Linked DNA regions of Homo sapiens: all the other regions are linked to region 1. The links are contacts of gene promoters, found by promoter capture Hi-C in blood cells and fetal thymus (Javierre and others, 2016). All regions are on one chromosome and are shown on one strand. Each heading gives the region's core, a stretch centred on a gene start or on the middle of the fragment in contact. The rest is flanking DNA. Distances are from core to core; before and after follow the strand shown. Region 1 holds the start of LARS2-AS1 (LARS2 antisense RNA 1). Region 2 overlaps LIMD1 (LIM domain containing 1). Region 3 overlaps LIMD1 (LIM domain containing 1). Region 4 has its middle 5.3 kb from the start of LIMD1.

The links. The method cuts DNA at HindIII sites, captures the fragments that hold promoters and counts their contacts. A CHiCAGO score of 5 or more calls a contact.
Region 2: a contact is called between a fragment that was not itself captured here and the fragment with the promoter of LARS2-AS1 in region 1, in 1 of 17 cell types (monocytes). The highest score is 5.2, in monocytes.
Region 3: a contact is called between a fragment that was not itself captured here and the fragment with the promoter of LARS2-AS1 in region 1, in 1 of 17 cell types (monocytes). The highest score is 6.1, in monocytes.
Region 4: a contact is called between a fragment that was not itself captured here and the fragment with the promoter of LARS2-AS1 in region 1, in 2 of 17 cell types (monocytes and megakaryocytes). The highest score is 5.4, in monocytes.

The regions. Positions count from the first base shown.
Region 1 is chr3:45,506,135-45,510,824 of GRCh38, forward strand. LARS2-AS1 (LARS2 antisense RNA 1) reads right to left here and starts at 3,411. Exons shown (of 4, transcript NR_048543.1): 1 at 3,223-3,411; 2 at 778-848. The region is part of intron 15 of LARS2 (leucyl-tRNA synthetase 2, mitochondrial); the gene reads left to right. RefSeq lists an enhancer at 1,790-2,656 and a silencer at 3,483-3,777. The HindIII fragment of the contact is 1,698 bases long and covers 2,216-3,913 here.
Region 2 is chr3:45,609,129-45,613,683 of GRCh38, forward strand. The region is part of intron 1 of LIMD1 (LIM domain containing 1); the gene reads left to right. Among named protein-coding and RNA genes, the nearest start is that of LIMD1, 17 kb to the left of the region's middle. RefSeq lists enhancers at 2,594-2,663, 3,721-3,770. The HindIII fragment of the contact is 4,747 bases long and covers 1-4,037 here.
Region 3 is chr3:45,628,891-45,633,521 of GRCh38, forward strand. All of the region lies in intron 1 of LIMD1 (LIM domain containing 1), which reads left to right. Among named protein-coding and RNA genes, the nearest start is that of LIMD1, 36 kb to the left of the region's middle. RefSeq lists an enhancer at 1,077-1,578. The HindIII fragment of the contact is 9,554 bases long and covers 1-4,631 here.
Region 4 is chr3:45,587,169-45,591,769 of GRCh38, forward strand. No RefSeq gene overlaps it. Among named protein-coding and RNA genes, the nearest start is that of LIMD1, 5.3 kb to the right of the region's middle. The HindIII fragment of the contact is 2,487 bases long and covers 425-2,911 here.

The DNA of each region.
Region 1 (4,690 bases), core at 2,161-4,660:
CCGTTCCATGCTTTCCTCCTCCAAAAGAGACTTATTTTAATTACTGAAAAGGCTGACCTTTGAGGAAGGTACAGAAAGTCATCTTAACTGTTACTCAGTGCTGCTGTCAGCATTACTCTTGTTGGATCACATCAGGGCAGCAACAGCCTCTGAAAACTCTCCCGGTGCATTACCTCTTTCTTAGAGGTGTATTGGTAAACCAGTCAGCCACACATGAAATGAAAATCACCCACTTTCTGAGATGAGTAATTTGGAATTCTACAGTCAGAATTTTTGAGAGCCTCCAAACAACTTTATCAAGCTGGGCTGGGAGGAAAAATTGAGACCTGTCAACCACATGTGTATTTCTGAAATCTGTATAAATCAGGATTTCCTAGTCTAGTTCTGTATTCCTTTTGATTAGCATTGTAATTTCAGGAGGCTATTTGAGATGATAGTACAGCTATTCCATTTTAGTTTAACATTTCTGAGCCCCTCAGCCCTTGTCTCAAGTAGCAGCTGTGAAACAGGAATCCAAAGACCTCTGTCCATGTTCAGTGGTGCCCCTGATTAGCTGTGTGGACAAGAAGCTGAACTCCTTTGGGTCTCAGTGGCCTCATATGTTAGGAACTCAGTTATCTCTGAGCACTCTTTTCACTCTGATTCTAATTTCTTCAAATACAGACAGCAAAGGTTTATGTATATCTAATCATCTTTCCTGTTTTGTAAGAGTTGTGGACATTTTTTTTCATCACCTGCACAGTTAGGCTTGCAGTTTGTACTTTAAGGTCTCCTTACCTTACGTAAGAGGCTGGCCTCCAAGTTAAGTGTGCCACCACACAGGACAGCAGGTGCCTTAGTTGTGTGATCTGAAATACCAAGTTAATGATTAACCGGGAATTAATGTAAGCAGGAAACCCACAAAAGAAGATATCCAAATGATTAATAAACATTTTATCACACTATAAAATAATAAACATCTTACACTGTAAAATGTTTCCGTCCCAGCACGATGGCTCACACCTGTAATCCCAACACTTTGGGATTGCAAGACAGGAAGATCATTTGAGTGCAGGGGTTCGAGACCAGCCTGGGCAACACAGCAAGACCCCATTTCTATGATTTTAAAAAAAAAAATTTCCCTCACTGGCAAATATAAATTATTCAGCAGTGAGATGCCATCTTCCATGTAGTAAGGAAGCTAGCATAAGAGCAGCTCTCATATATTGCAGGAAGTAGCTTGGAACAATCTTTCTGAAAAGCAGTTTGGCAATACATAGTGAGAGCCTTAAAACTATTCATTTTTGGGTGCACTAATTGCACTGCTAAAAATCTATCCTAAGGAAATAATCAGAAATGCAAACTTATGCACCAAGATGTTCATGTAAGTGTTATTTCAAGTAGCTAAAAATTTGGATACAATCTAAATGCCCCAAAATGCTGAGACAGGGTAAATAAAGTATAATCCATCTACGTGGAGCACACTTATACAACACTTTCAATTAAATTACAAAGAATGTTTAATAACATGGAGAAATTCATCTGAAGTAATGAGAAATAGAAAAAGCAAGATACAGCTTGGTTATCTTTGTCTTTATATATACAAGCACATATATACACATACTCAAAGCAAGAGAAAAGACTTGAAAAACTCATGCCAACATGTTAACACTAGCTATCTCTGGGTGGTGAGCCCAATATACTTCTGATTTTTTCCAGATTTTTTACAATGATTGTGTAACTTTATCATTTACAGTATGGTATATATTCCAAAGAAGGAAAATATGCTGAGCCTCCTGCTGTGGTTGTGGGTGTGGGGTAGGATCAGCTTTCAGCTTCCCTCCTTCCGGTGGTTAGCACCAGGTTGAAAGAGAGGGGGCACATTAGAGCGTGGGAACATGTCATGGCCCATCTTCACTGAATGAGATCAGGAAGCCTTTTCTCTCCCTTTGTGGGAGACCGCTGTAAACATGGAATCTTGTCACTTTTTGTTGTAGCTCTGTAATGCAACTTAGACACTAAATTCCCCAAACTGAATTTCTCCCTTCAGTTTGGAATCAACAGAAAGTGGTGGCTGTCAGAAGCAAGCAGCTGCTCAGGGAGCTCCCATGAGAAGGGCAGGCCGCCTGCTGACCGTGGAGAGCACAGCAAGCCCCTATCCACAGAGCTTTCTTCTCTGTTACTCTGATCATGCCAGAAACGGGGCTACTGGGAAAAGGAACAGGAAGGGAAGAGAAGCTTTACTTGGGTCCTGCTGTATTAGTAAACCCTCCTTCTGCGCCACTAACTGGCTGCTAGGAAATGGGAATGGTGATATTTCAAGAATGAGCCATGGCTAATACTTAGAAACTAGGCTAATTATGTGACATGATGGCCCTGGGCACAGAACAAGGAAGAAGAGGAAGGTAAACTTAGTCTGATTTAATGAAAAGTCCAATTTGGAGACCATTTTCAGAGATCTATGGCCTTCAAAGATCTGCAGCCTGGCAGGCCACTCTCGCACCAGGTCAGGGGAGTGGGCAGCAGGCTCTCTGGGGCTTCATGAATAGGTAAATGTCATCTGCAGCAAGAAGGTGGGGCTCTGATACATCCTGATATTCTTTGCTCATACTGTAATTAGCACATTCCTTGTATATAGTGATTTTTTTAAGAGCACTTAACATGGCCAATCAATCAATGTTCTGAATTTCCTTGTTTATCCTAATAATTAGCAACTCCCTTCCTTCCCTCCCTTCCTCCCTCTCCTCCCTCCCTACCTTTCCTCCCCTCTTTCCCTGCCTCCCTCCCTTCCTTCTTTCCTTCTTCCAAGTGGGACAAATGTGGCCTTCAATGCCCAGCAGCTATCAGTTGTTGCAATTTCTGAGTTAGTGCAGTCTAAACTAATGAAGAAATTGTGAAGATCTCCCCCCAGTTTTCATCACTGTGCTTACATATAGCTGTGCTTCAGTGCAAGCAAGCATGATCTACCTCCAGGGATGTACCGAAGGAGTAGGAAGAAAGCTGACTCAGAAATCCAGGGCCTTCTTCAAGGCAGAGGCCCTGCCTAATACTCCCGCGTTTGATGGTCCCTGAGTCAGAACGGTTTGTTAGTGGTTTAGAGTTGCAGATTTTCCACTCACTTATAAAGGCCCCTGCTGTGCACAGTCACTATGATGAATGAATAACTCAGTTGCATACGCAAGTCTGTTCCCAAGTACCATCTGTTGAGTGAATGAATGAGTGAACAAAAGGGAAACACATTACCCCAATTGTGAATCTGAATAATGAACTTGGCAATGTGATGTGATCTCTGCTCCAGCAGGCCTGGGTTCCAAGTCCAGCAGGGCCCTTGATGTCCTTTGTCCTTCATTCCTGTGCACCTTGCGCCTCCAAATCACATTTGGTACGTCTTTCTTGTAGTGCTGATGGTTATTTATGAGCATGTCCTGGGCTGCCTGTTCTTATTGTAAGCTCTCCAATTAATTGCCTAGTGCTGTGTACCCAATTATCATGTAAATACATGTTGAATGAATAAACAAGTGTGACTCATTCAGAGCTAAACTACGCATGAGAGTAGACATGGCCAGCTTCAGCCAAGAGTGAAAACCAGATTCCCAACTCCCTATAGCCCATTCCCTGGCTCCCTGGAAAAGTGGAGGGAAAACACTTGGGAATGAGCAGGATTCTAGGAGCTGGGAAGCGCCCCTTTCCCCACTGGGAAATTCCATGTGAGCACTCATCGGGGCATTCCCCTGCTCTCATTCTCTTGCTTCAGCTGCTTGGGATCTTTCAATGCACCCCTCCCTGCAAAAAGATGGTGGCACTAGCTGGAAAGTATAGCATCCAGTGCCCCACTTCACTCATTTCTTTCTTCCCTCCTCTCTTGCCTCCACTTTGTCCTACTCACATTATCCCCCACCCCTGCTGCTGGTAGGTTTATTCATCCACTGAAACAAGCTTGATTGAGTTCAAGGCAATTAACATTACTGAGCATCTGTTAGGAACTGGAGACTGAGAGTGGCCTTTAAGGATTTTCAAGGCCAGGAGCAGTGGCTCATGCCTGTAATCCCAGCATTTTGGGAGGCCGAGGCAGGAGGATTGCTTGAGCTCAGGAGTTCAAGACCAGCCTGGGCAACATAGTGAGACTTCATCTCTACCAAAAATACAAAAAATTAGCTGGGTGTGGTAGTGCGCGCCTGTGGTCCCAGCTGCTTGCAGGGGTAAGGTGGGAATATCACTTGAGCCCAGGAGACTGAGGCTGCAGTGAGCTGTGATTGTGCCACTGCACCCCAGCCTGGGTGACAGAACAAGACCCTGTCTCAAAAAAAAATCATCCTCCTACTCCTCACAGGAGAAAGACAGGCAAGCAGCTTACCTAAATACACAATAAAATGTAATAGCTGCTAGATACAATTACAGGCACTACACAGGATGCATCAGGAAGGAAAAAACAACTAATTCTAATTCTGACCAGGAGATACCTTCTCAGTGGAGATGGCATTTGAGTTGAGCCAGGAAGGAGGACTAGAGTTTTGATAACAGTTTGGGAAATGGCGTGAGTAAAGACGTGGAAGCACATGCAGGCAACATTTGAAAGAGCAGAGGGAGTGGCAGGGGACAGGGAGAAGTCCTGGATGGCTATGCGGAGGAATTTGGACTTGATTGGGAGGAGGAGCTCTTCAAATATGACTGCACTCTTTCTTTTCCTCCCTCACAGCTCTGAGAGTTGTCA
Region 2 (4,555 bases), core at 414-2,913, 100 kb after region 1:
TCACCAGACCTTGATTACCTGTTAGAGTTTTGAAGGGAGAGCTTATCTGGTGAGGACTTGGGTGACGTTGCTTGTGGGAGGAGGGCCAAGCACGGAATGGAAGTTGAATGTTAGAAGTGCTAGACCTCCAGATTCAGTAAACTTGGAGAATCCCTGTCCCTTGTGGTAAACTTGAGACTTGACTACATTTTGCGGTTAAGGGAATTTCAGTCGGTCAGCATATAACCTGGGGGAGCTTCATGATGTTCTCTTCTTTTTTCTTTTTAATTCATAGGTGTGATCATAGTACACTACAGCCTCAAGCTCTTGGGCTCAAGCAGTCCTCTTGCCTCAGCCTCCCAGGTAGCTGGGATACAGGCATGTGCCACCGCGCCTGGCTCTGAATGGTTCCTTGGTTTCCTTGGTGGGTGGAGCTCCAGATTCCTGAAGCTGGAGTTGTGGGCATGAACCCCAAGTGGGTCACTGGCTTTCCTGCGGGGTTCCACAGCCCTCACTTACCCCTGCCCCAGACCTATCTTTGCATTACCACATCCAGAAAAAGTAGTTCCAAGCCAGGATAACTCATTCATTCAGCAGCTATTATTGAGTACCTACTATGTGCAAGAGACTGAATTAGGACTACTAGGGCTTCCTTTTGTCACAAACAGGTATTGCTTAGTTCCTCCTGCTGTATCTGAGCTCCTTGGTAGTGGGGTTTTTGTCTGTTTTGTTCACTGTTGTATCCCCAGGGCCCAAGGCACTGCCTGGCACACAGCAGGTACCCAGTGGAAACTTACTGAATGAGGCTGGGTGCGGTGGCCCATGCCTGTAATCCCAGCACTTTGGGAGGCCGAGGTGGGCAGATCACAAGGTCAGGAGATCGAGACCAGCCTGACCAACATGGTGAAACCCCATCTCTACTAAAACTACAAAAATTAGCTAGGCATGATGGCGCGCGCCTGTAATCCCAGCTACTCGGGAGGCTGAGGCAGAAGAATCACTTGAACCCGGGAGGCGAGTGAGCCGAGATTGTGCCACTGCATTCCAGCCTGGGCAACAGAGCAAGGCTCTGTCTCAAGAAAAAAAAGACTTCTCGAATGAATATGTGTACACTCTGGCCAGATGTGGGGAGCAGATACTCCCTGACTTCCTCCTGAGTGTCAGTGCCTTTAGCTGGGACACACATTCTGGCATCAATCCATACCCTACACTGACGTGGTAGGGAGGCAGGGGCACTGGGCTGCTGTCCACATCCCTCACCCTGACCAGAGTTACTCAGATGAGCGCTCTCATGTGGGTAGGAGATGCCTTTGGTAGCTGAGGACTAGAGGGGCCAGAAAGGGTTGGGATACATGCTTTATCTGGATAGAAACTTATAGAGTTCCAGGGACTAGCTCACCAAAGGCCTGCGCAGGTTTGGCAGGGAGCAGGGAGACATGCTGGCAGGCATGCATGGTGGCTTTGATTTGAGGAGCTGTTGGTGGGAATGAAAAGCCTAATAAGCACGTGGGCTTTGGATCTGCCACCCCCCAGCTCTGCCAACAGCTGTGAGACCTTGGGCGGGTTGTTCAGCAGCCCTGTACCTCAGTTTCCCCATCAGTAAAATGTGCATATGGTTGTGAGGACTGAATTAGCTAGTATCTGATCTAAGTTGTCCAGTACGGGAGACTGGCCACGTGCAACTGTGAAGTACTTCAAAAGGTGGCTTTTCTGAACTGAGATGTGCTTTTGAAGCACATCTGGATTTTGAAGACTTGGTATGGAGAAAAGAGTGGCTTATTAATATTTTTCATATTGATTCTATGTTGAAATGAGACTTTTGGATATATTGGCCTAAGTAAAACATTAAAATTAGTTTCACCTATTTTTACTTCCTAAGTATGGATACTTGAAAATGTAAAATCGCACGTGGCTTGCATATTTTTCTGCTGGGCAGGGCTGTGCCTTACAAAGCACTTAGAACAGGCTGTAACACATGGTCGTTTGCTGTATACATTCTCTTGCTTTGTCATTTTCTCAAAAGCATGGAAGCGTCTTTACCTTGTCCCATCTGAAAGCCAAGCCCAATCGATTTGTTCAGAACCACAAATGCTTAAACAAAAAGATCATCATTTGTTCAAGGGAGGCTGATTTCATGATTGCCAACCACCAAGTGAGCCCACTGAGGCCAAATGCCTGATGCAAGGGATGGCAGGCTGCTCCCACGCAGCCTTAGAACGAATCCGTTCCCACTTGAAGCAGGGGGGCTCTGGGGTCCGAAGCTGCTGTGTGCACAGGGCTTGATGGAGCAGGTGGTCATTGCAGCTGAGCCAACTTTCCAGCGCCTTAAAAAATACACTCAGTTTAGCAAGTACAGGCAGAAAGCCCAAAGAGATGGCCCATCCCCTTGAGGGAGGTAGAGAAGTGAACGATGGTGTTTCCTGTCCCAAGAGGTGGGAGGAAGGCTGTTTGGGATTTGGCTCATCAGGGGCCACAGGCTACTGGGATGCCTATGTCCTATCCCTCTGTGTAGGCTATGGAGCCCTTTCCTGGGTATGGGCCTCCCAATAAGCCTGTGGCCAATGCAGGGGCAGGCTGGGAGGTGGCTTTCCAGGCAGCTTGCAAAGGCCTGTTTGTCTGAGGCTTGTCCTGACATCACTGAGGCTTTGCTTGCAGGTGGCAGGGACTTACACAGAGGCTCTTTGTTGGCCAGCCACAGAGGTCAGTTAGAAGCCATGAATGGACTGGAGCTGGCAGCCCCTCCTCTACCCATAGCACACAGCTGCCACCTCTCTGGGTTGCCCATGCCTGACGGTGGGTGTGTGAGGTGTGGGGAGAGGCATCTCTGCCCAAATTTGTAGCCAGAGAGCAGAGGAAGTGAAGTTGGTGGGAGGCGGTGAGGAAGGCAGGGAGAAAGAAAGGAGGTGGTGTTGAGGAAGCTAGCATGGCTTCTGCCCAGCTCTGTCATGGTTTGCAGGTGCGCGCTCTCTCTCTCTCTCTCTCTCTCTCTCTCTTTAAAGACAAATTCTCACTCTGTACCCAGGTTAGAGTTCAGTGGCACCATCTTAGCTCACTGTAGCCTTGGCTTCCTGGGCTCAAGCAATCCTCCCATCCCAGCCCCCCGAATAACTGGAAACACAGGTATGCACAACCATGCCTGGCTAATTTGTTAATTTTTGTAGAGGCAGGGTCTCGCTGTCTTGCCCAGGCTGGTCTTGAACTCCTGGGCTCAAGTGATCCTCCCACCTCGGCCTCCCAAAGTGCTAGGATAACAGGTGTGAGCCACTGTGCCAGGCCTTTTGCAGGCTATTTGATGTCTGCATTGGATACTTGGGGTCAGGCTCAATGCCTGGAAGTCATTTAGTGTCATTCTGCTGTGCTCTATTACTTTAAGCATTCACAAGCCTTTCCACACTCTCACTTCTTGATAGGAGGAGTGTCTAGGAATTGTTTTCAAAATGCTGTATTTGCATACAGAGAAATGTGTAGTTCAGTGAGTTTTGACAGATGCATGCACCTGTGTGACCCACATTCCTATCAAGATATAGAATAGTTCCATCCCCAGAAAGTTCCCTCATGCTTCTTTCCAGTTAGTGCTCACCTCCAGGCAACTACAATTCTGATTTTTTAAAATCATTTATTAGTTTTGCCCATTCTAAGATGTAATATAAATGGATTCATATAGTATTTATATACAGTTGATCTTCATTATCCACAGATTCTGTATTTGTGAATCAGCTTACTTGCTAAAATTTATTTGTAACCCCAAAATTAATACTCACAGTTCTTTTGTGATCATTCACAGATATAACAGAGTGCTGAAAAGTTTGAGTCCCCTGACGCCTATCTTCCCAGCTGAAGTCGAACAAGGCAACGCTCCGCCTTCTTGTTTCAGGTCATGCAGTAAACAGGTGTCCTTTTCATGGTCTATTTAGTGCCATGGTTTTTGCATTTTTGTGGTTTTTGTTGATGATTTTGCTGTTTCAAATGGCCCCCAGGCACAGTGCTGGAGTGCTTTCTAGTGTTCCTAAGAGCAAGAGGGCTGTGATGTGCTTTACAACGAGAATATGTATGAGAGAAGCTTTCTTCAGGCACGAGCTACAGGGCTGTTGGCTGAGGGTTCGATGTTAATGAATCAACAATATATACTAAGGAAGGTGTCTCTAAATAGAAGCACACATAAAACAAGGTCATATATTCATCAGTTGATGAAAGTGTTGTGGTCAGAAGTTTTCAGAAACCTAACCCTGTATTTCTGCCAGAAGCAGTGGTTCAGTATTGACTGATTCAGTATTCTTGCCAAATAATGAGAATCAACTATAGTACTCCTTTGTCCAGCTTATTTCACTCAGATAATATCTGTGAAATTCAGCTATGCTGTTGCATTATCAACTGGGCTTTTTGCATTATCAATTGTGCTTTTGTTTTACTGCTGAGTAATATTACATTGTATGGATACACCACAAGATTTGTTTTTCCATTTCCCTGTTGAGGTTTTTTTTTTTTTTTCATTTTTGGCTATTATGAATAAGTCTGTTAGGATTGTTTTTGTGTAAGACTTTGGGTTTTTTTTTTGTTTGTTTTTTTCTTTTGTAAA
Region 3 (4,631 bases), core at 941-3,440, 120 kb after region 1:
GAAACCAGATAAAGTACATAAACCAGATAAAGTACATACTCCAGATTCCATTTATATAAACTAGAAAAGACAAGCTAATCTGTGATGACAGAAAGCAGATCAGTGGTTGCCTGGGGAGAGGAAGAGGAAGCGGGGAGGGATTGCAAAAGGCATGAGGACATGGGGAATCTCTGGGGCAGTGGATTTGATCATTGTCTTGATTGTGGTGATTTCACAGGTGTATAGAAATGTCACAACACGGGGCTGGGCACGGTGGTTCACGCCTGTATTCCCAGCACTTTGGGAGGCCGAGGCGGGCAGATCATGAGGTCAGGAGTTCAAGACCAGCCTGACCAACATGGTGAAACTCTTGTCTCTACTAAAAATACAAAAATTAGCCAGGCCTGGTGGCACGTGCCTGTAATCCCAGCTACTCAGGAGACTGAGGCAGGAGAATCGCTTGAACCCAGGAGGCAGAGGTTGTAGTGAGCTGAGATCACGCCACTGCACTCCAGCCTGGGTGACAAAGAAGACTCTTGTCTCAAAAAAAAAAAAAAAAAAGAAAAGAAAAGAAATGTCACAACATACTGATACAGAAGCAGGGAAGAGAAGTGCTGGGTAGAGGAGGGCATGGTCCCTGGCTAGGGCTCTATACCAGGGACCTAGGTGAGGACAGGCACTTCTGCCTTTGCACCCAAATATTGCATTTTCCAAAACCACCCCAGCCTGCCTTGCTCCCATCCTGGGCCTATAAAAACCTGAGACCCTAGCAAGGCAGAGACAGAAGCTGCTGGACGGCGAGAGGAACACATCAGCGGAAGAAGATACAAGCAGCTGGATGGCGAGAGGATGCCAGGAGCACACCGACAGACGCCACCACACTGGCAGGCCATCAGCCGGCAGAACGAGGCAGAGTTTGGCTGGGGCAGTCGGAGGAGAGCCTGTATGCTCCCCTAGAGGTTTGAGCAGGGGGGCACTGAAGAAGCGAGCCACACTCCCATTGCACACCCTGTGAGAGGGACAAGGGAACTTTTCCCATCATAATACCAAATTGCACTCTTTAAATAGGTACAGCTTATTATATGCTACTTATATCTCATTAAAGCTGTTTTATAAGAAGATTGCTTGGGCTACAATTTGGAGAATGGGCTAAAGGGGCAGTAAGTCTAATTGCAGAGGAAAAATGCCCATCCCTTCCTCTCTTCTCCTAAAAGTGTATCCCTTATTCCTCTCACTTCCCTTCTGGTTTTTGAGCTTGGTTGTTACAGTAACATGTGATGATATTTTTTCTTTCCTCTGTTGGGCATTTCTTTAAAATCCTGTGGCATGGGGGGCCCTGGCAAAGCCAAGGGAGGCTAAGAGCCTACTCTTTTTCTTCTTGTTGAGCCTGAGCCTCTCCTCAGCCCAGACCACTTAGTGAATGTACAGGTGAGATTGGGCAGCTCACCACCAGTGGTGGCAGGGTCTGGTTTCTACAAGGGCATGGCCACAGTGCAGTCACCCTGCTCCCTATCCCATAGCCAGCGTCTGGAGAGGGGCTGGCTCCAAATGAGTGAGAGGGAAGTGTTTGTGGGGGGAACGATTGGTTTCCTGAAGGGCAATCAGAAGGCACGCACCTGCAGGGCCCCTCACAGAAGGGCAGGAGGAGCTGCGGGTTGCCCCCCAGGGAGAGGCCTTGTGATTGAGGTCCCAGTCAGAAAGATGGTCGTGTGTGCAAGGGACAAGGTAGAATGGGAGGTGGGCCAGGGTGGGTAGTAGGAGACTGGGGGCAGGGCTGGTCTGGGGTCTGAATCCCTGATGAGGTGATATGTTATGGGGTGAGGAAGGAGCTCCCCTCATGATGGGGGGGGTTGGGGGGCATGTGTGGCAGGAATAGCCACAGCTGCCAACCAGATAGTCATAATGAGACCTTTGAGTTGGAACTGGGGCTCAGATTCCCTCTTTCAAACCTACCCACTGTGCAGACTTCAGTAAGTGACAGGACCTTTCTGGAACTTGGGTTTTAGACAGGAGATGGCAGCAGCTCCTTCACTGGTTGAAATCCCCAAGTCTGGCTAGGTGCGGTGGCTCACGCCTGTAATCCCAGCACTTTGGGAGGCCGAGGCGGGCGGATCACCTGAGGTCAGGAGTTCCAGACCAGCCTGGCCAGCATGGAGAAACCCCGTCTCTACTAAAAATATAAAAATTAGTCAGGCATGGTGGTGCACAACTGTAATCCCAGCTACTCGGGAGGCTGAGGCAGGAGAATAGCTTGAAACCAGGAGGCAGAGGTTACAGGTAGCCGAGATCGCATGCTGCACTCCAGCCTGGATGACAGAGTGAGACTCTGTCTCAAATAATAATAATAATAATAAAAATCCAAAGAAAAAAATATCTGTGAGTCCATACTGATATACTGCACTCCAGCCTGGCGACAGAGTGAGACTCTCTCAAAAAAAAAACAAAGAAAGAAATCTCCAAGTCCAGGGTCTGGCCCATAGTAGACACATGATTTCCTAGAATGTGAAATGCAGTTTTTTTCCCTACCTTTTCTGTGTAGGAAGTACTTTTAGATCCATTTAGCCACAAGGATGAAATCTTTTCCTACCTACTTGGCTTCTTATGGGGTCTTCCTCACTCTGTGACCCATGGTTTCAAACACAGGTGGCTTCCTTGTTTTGTATCTGTGCTAGGTGGTCACTGGTCACGGTGGAGAGAAAGGATGTCAGCAGCCCGAAGGACTCAGCTGCAGGAACAGAAAGTGAGGGACAGCTGAAGGCAGAGGGTCACAGCCCTCAGAGAGAGGAAGCCAGAAGAGAGTGTAGCTGAGCAGGGTGTGGAGAGAGGGGAGGAAGCCCTGCCGTTGAGAGATAAAGTGGCAGGAAGTCCAGTGGGGCACTGGCTGTTGTCAGAGCATCCACGTGAAGACGCTGGCCACCCTGCCAGCATCTTATGAACAGGGGTAGGAGAGGGTGCTGGATTTCATTCCCCAAACCCAAATAAGATGCATTTGCTTCTGCCGTCTGGGCCAGCAGCATTGCACTGACACGTGCAATTCATTTCACCTTTCCTTTTTGGTGAGCTGTCTTGCAGGACGGTCCTCTTCATGTGCTCATGCTGTGGGTGGTGGAAAGGGTGGGCATGCCATGCTAAGCTGCTGAGTCCCTGTGCCCCTCTGCTGTTTGTAGCCAGCATTTTACAGGAGGTTAAACAAAGAGGCCACAGCATTTGGGAGTGGTTTTACACCACGTTTGTGAGCAGAATTATATTCACAAATGCACTGCTTTAACATTACATGTAGCCTGCTTCGAGTGTGCTTAGTTGATGCCTGACAAACTAGCTTTTGTTGCTCATTGTAAAGGCTTAGAGTCAGGTCCACCAGGGGACTTACGATGGGTAATCTGGAAGTGGACTTCGGCATTACCAAACAATAACCTAACTCATATCTTGACATTTTGCCATGGCCTGATATTTGGCATTTTTCGGAAAGATTTCTCCCCCATTGTCACATTTGAATTATGTCATCGCCAGTTCCCAATAGATGTCCATAGAACCCATTTCTCTGTGTTTAGGTCTGCTGAGGGGATACTAAGTGCACTCTGTCTGTGGCTGGGGGTGTTCAGAGATGAATAAGACCCTGGGCCTTGGAATGAAGTGCTTGTGGGGGAACAGACATGTGTGCCCAAGATACAAGGAAGCAGGTGCCAGGTAAGGAAGAAAGAGGAAAGGACTGTGCAGGGAACTATGTGGAATGTGATTCAACTCACACTTGTTTCCTTGAGCACTTGCGGAGGCCACAGTTAAGACATGGCCCTTATTCTGAAGGCACTTGCAATTCACTAGGAGAGGCAAATGCCCAGGTAACTAGCAACTCACCACAGCATGGTAGGTGCTGTGCCCAGTGGCAGATGCACCACCACCATCACTTCCACATTTGCCCCGTCCCAAATACTAGAGGCCCCACTTGGCTCGGCCTGGTCCAGTGGTCACTGTGCATGGGCCCCTAGCAGCAGCCGCGACACCACTGCTTTCCAGGGTGACGAGACCGCTTAAAGGAGCCTTAAAGATGAGTGGTGATGCCTCAACCCTGTTGGGTTTATGCTTTGCTGCTAGGTGGGCCCCACAGCTCCATGTGTGCCAGCAAAAGAAATGCAGTTTGCCCGGAACTGTATTTTCTACCTTGAGAGCATAAGGTACCTAAGTTGTATATAAAAATCATTAGACAGAAAGAAATGCTGATGCCTCTGAATTACTTGATGCTTTCAGTTTCATACTGGTGGGGGCTCCCTGTTGACTTTGCTGCTTGCAAGGAACAGAAATGCCAGCTGTCCAGTAATCTCATCCGCCCGCCACCCTCCCCTCCACAGGCACATATACATGCACACACATGCATTTCATGGCCATTAAAGAGAAGATGGAAGGGAGAAGGCAGGCAGGAACTTTTTGGGGGTGTTGGAAATATTCTATATCTTGATTTGGGTTTGCTTTACATAGATCATTTGTCAAAACTCATTGAATGGTAGACTTACACTTTTTGTGTCTGTTTGTGAATTTTACCCGGAAAAAAATAAGCCTAAGCAAATAAATGATGAACTCTAGTTAATGATGGGGAGGCTGAAGTGTTTGGGGTGAAGTTGCTGCCTGCAACTTTGAAATGCATCAAGAATGGGATG
Region 4 (4,601 bases), core at 418-2,917, 79 kb after region 1:
TGGAAGTCCAAATAGGACAGGGATGTTCATCTGTTTTGTCCACTGCTGTATCCCCAGCACCTAGGAAAGGGCCCGGGGCATTACAGGTGCTCAGTACCATTTGTTCTGTGAGTGAATGCATGATAAGGGCAAGGGCAAGGAACAGCAAAGAAGTCCATGTGTCTGAATGGAGCAAGAGGAAAGGATAGTGGAAAATTTGGAGGCAGAGGAGGCAAGGCACCAGATCACATAGAGCCAAGGAAAGGATCTAAGTGTGGTTCAGGATGCCATTGGAGGGTTTGCACTAGGGAAAGCCATGATCTGACTGATGTTACTGAGATTCTGGGCAGGTCAAGTAAAAAAAATTCACATTCCATGAGTGTGTCCCTGTGGCAGGCAGTTTTTGTATCTGTGTATCATGAACAATTGTCCTGCCTCAGCCTAAAGCTTTCCTAAAGGAAAGCTGGGTGTCGAAAATGGTACCTGTTGCACAGGCAGGGCCATGGGAAGGAATGATCACTGCTTTGCAGGGGCTCCATGCTTTACAGCTTGCTATGGACTGAATGTTTATGCCCACTGCCCCAACATTCATATGTTAAAATCCTACCGCCCAAAGTAATGGTATTAGAAGGTGGGACTTTGGGGCCGGGCACGGTGGCTCACACCTGTAATCCCAGCACTTTGGGAGGTTGAGGCAGGCAGATCATGAGGTCAGGAGATCGAGACCATCCTGGCCAACATGGTGAAACCCTGTCTCTACTAAAATACAAAAAAATTAGCCGGGTGTGGTGGTGTGCGCCTATAGTCCCAGCTACTCGGGAGGCCGAGGCAGGGGAACTGCTTGAACCCGGGAGGTGGAGGTTGCAGTGAGCCAAGATCACGCCACTGCACTCCAGCCTGGCGACAGAGCGAGACTGTATCTCAAGAAAAAAAAAAAAAAAAAAAGAAGGTCATGAGGGTAGAGCCCTTATGAATGGAATTAGTGCCATTAAAAAAGAGGCCTGAGGGAGCTTGGTCACCCTTCTACCATGTGAGGACACAGGCAGAAGGTACCATCTATGAACCAGAGAGCAGGTCCTCACCAAACACCCATTGACAAAAGGAGTCAAACTCTGTAAAATATTTGAAGAGATTTATTCTGAGCCAAATATGAGCAACCATGGCCTGTGACACAGCCCTCAGGAGATCCTGAGAATATGTGCCCAAGGTGGTTGGGGCGCAGCTTGGTTTTGTACATTTTAGGGAGATGTGAGACATCAATCAAATACATTTAAGATATATATTGGTTGCATCCAGAGAGGTGGGACAACTCAAAGAGGGGGGTGGTGGGGGTGAGGGCTTCCAGGTTATAGGTAGATTAAAAATTTTTCTAACCAACAATTAGTTGAAATAGTTATCAATATAAAAAAAGTCTAGGTTGTGATAAGAGACTGTGGAGACCAAAGTTTCATCATGCAGATGAAGCCTCCAGGTAGCAGGCTTCAGAGAGAATAGATTGTTGGGCTGGGTGCAGTGGCTTATGCCTGTAATCCCAGTACTTTGGGAGGCTGAGGTGGGTGGATCACCTGAGGTCAGGAGTTTGAGACCAGCCTAGCCAACATGGAGAATCCCTAGCTCTACTAAAAATACAAAAAGTTAGCTGGGCGTGGTGGCGTGTGCCCGTAATCCCGGCTACTCGGGAGACTGAGGCAGGAGAATAACTTGAACCCAGGAGGCGGAGGTTGCAGTGAGCTGAGACCATGCCATTGTACTCCAGCCTGAGCAACAAGAGCAAAACTCCATCTCAAAACAAAACAAAACAACAACAACAAAACCAGAGAGAATAGATTGTAAATATTTCTCATCAGACTTAAGGTCTGTGTTGATGTTAATGCCAGAGAGGTGTAATGAGGCATGTCTGACCCCCACTTTCAGGTTAAATTTTAGAGTGCCCTGGCTGAGGAGGAAGTCCATTTAGATGGTTGGGGGGCCTTAGGATTTTATTTTTGGTTAACACCCTGAATTTGCTGTTGCCTTGATCTTGGACTTCCCAGCCTCTCAAACCATGAGAAATACATTTCTGTTGTTTATAAGTCACCTAGTCTGTGGTATTCTGTTATAACAGCCCAAATGGACCAAGACTAGTCAACTAGAATATTGAACATGTTTTCATTCAAGAAAACAAAATAAAACATTACTGGTAAACACTTAAACAAAACCATTTACACTCTGCCTACCTACTGATAAAATTTTTTAACTTTTCAGTATTTTGCTTCTTAAACAACTGTTATGCAAATATAAACACCTTTTTTTGAGATATTAAAGTTGTTTCCAAGCACATGAAACAGACAAAAACAGCCTGTATTAAATAACCACAGCTGGGATTCTAAATGCTATGCAGAGAATTTGAAAGACCTCTGCCTCTTATGTATTAAACAGCAGCAGTAAAACATCAGTAGTCTCCTGGCCATTTCTAAGTACCCTTTCACAGTGGTATATTATTCAGTTTGATGCCCATGGGATACCATCTTTATTTTTTTTTTTAATTTTTTTTTTGAGACAGGGTCTTGTTCTTTCACCCAGGCTGGAGAACAGTGGTGCGATACTACAGTCATGTGCTACCATACCTGGCCAATTTTTTAAAAATTATTTTTTGGTAGAGATGGGATCTCACTATGCTTGTTGCCCAGGCTGGTCGCAAACTCCTGGCCTCAAGCATTCCTCCCTCCTTGGCCTCACAAAGTGCTGGGATTACAAGAGGGAGCCACTGTGCTCGGCTGGGATGCCATCTTTATAATCTATTTTGTAACGGTGTAAGGTGATCCATTGACTAAGAGAGGACAACCCAGTTGGGGCAGGAAATACATGGATTGTGGATTCAGGTTTGTGTTTAGTTGATGGAGATGGTGCAACTGTTCTAGAATGGCAGTGGGGGTGGAGAGTAATGCCTACAAGCTTCTGGAATGCTGAGCACTTCAGCTAAGCCAAGATACGGGGAGGCAGGAGGGCATCAAGGATTGTGGGCTCACATAGGTGCCAATGTCACAGGATACTTGGGGTGTTGCTTTTCCAGACAGAAACCTCTGTGGCTAGTGGTGCCTTTGCCCAAGTTTTGCTCAGGCCTGCTGGTTTTGTTTCGCCCACTTAGCCTGACAGGCTGTGCTCAGCTCGTGCTACTGGTGTGGATCCCATGCTTGCCAAGGGCAAGCCAGCCATGGAGCAGCGAGAGCTGTGTGAGCAAGCAAGCATGGGGTCTGGCCACTGCACACAGCCAGGCATGCCAGCTGTGGCAGTGCAGGCAGCTCCAGGTGCCAGCACGGGCACAGCTGTGGCTGGACCAGGCGTACCACAGGCAACTTCCACCGCTGGCACTGGGGAATGCGGTGGCACCTGGAAGCTTGGAGACACCAGGAACCGCAGAGCCCCAAAGAGGGTATCATAACCCTGGATTGGGGTGCTCCTAGGTCTGGGCTCCCCAAAGGGCTGCAGCTTTTCTCTCCTTCTCTCTTTTCTCCTTCTCTCTTCTCTCCTTCTCGTTGCCCACAACGTGGCAAGCAAGGGGTGTGTTTCAGTCCTGTTTGTGTTACAGATCTTTTAGTGCCACCATTTGCCCAGTGGGTCCCAAGTTCTTGTCCTGTGTCCACAAAGAATGAAGTATGCAGACAACTGGAGGGTGAGCAAGGCAGAAAGGAGCCTCACTGAGTGGCAGAACTGTTCTCAGTGGGTATCTCCTTTCCTCAGGCAGGTTGTCCCGATGAGTGTCCAGCTCTCAGTGGAGAAGAGACCCACAGTGGGTAGCTGCCTTCCACAGGCAGGTTGCCCCGATGTCTCTGCAGCCTTCAGCAGAGAGACCCAGAGTGGGTAGCTCCTATCTGCAGGCAGGTCATCCCATTGTCTGCCTGAGTCTGGCTGAGTCTGGTTTTTTTTATGGACTTCAGAAGGGAGGAAGTGTGTGCTGATTGGTCCACCGGCAGCCATAGGCAGGCCCAGGAAAAGCACCATAAATTCTCACTCCAGTCTGCAGGACTGATAGCTCAGCCCCTAGGTTTCAGGCTGTCCCTGTCTTGAAGGGGGCTTCACTGGGGACCCATCCCATTTCACCCAGGAGCCTGATTGCCCCCTGCTGCCATCAACCTGCTGGCCATGGCACCCATGGCACCCAGGCTGTTCATGCTGAGGGGTGCCTGCAGGTACATGCCGAACTGCCCTCAGCCTCACCCTGGCCTCCCTCCCATGCTCATCGGCACCCAAAGTCTGGAGGGGGCCGAGGCGGCAGGGGACTGGTGTGTCAGTGCTGCCCTGAGTGCGTGCACCCCCAGCTGGGTCGTGACAGTATCTGGGCTCAGCTTCAACTTTGCTCCAAAATCAGAATGGGCACCAGGAGAGGCCAGGCAACAGGAGCAGGCACTTCTGAGCCTGTGGGAGTAGGGGGGCTTTCTAGGTCCCCGGGAGCACAGGGATGCCCAGGTCTGCAGCCACAGCTGGGTGGATGCAGCTGTGCCTGGGAAGGCAGGGCTCCCGCCCCACCAACTCAGAAGGGAGTGGGGCTCCTGCCTGTTCCTAGCTCCTACCAGCTCTATGGAGCATGCAGTCACGGCCTCACCTCGCCATTGCAGCTAGCATCATGGCAGTGGCTGCTCCAG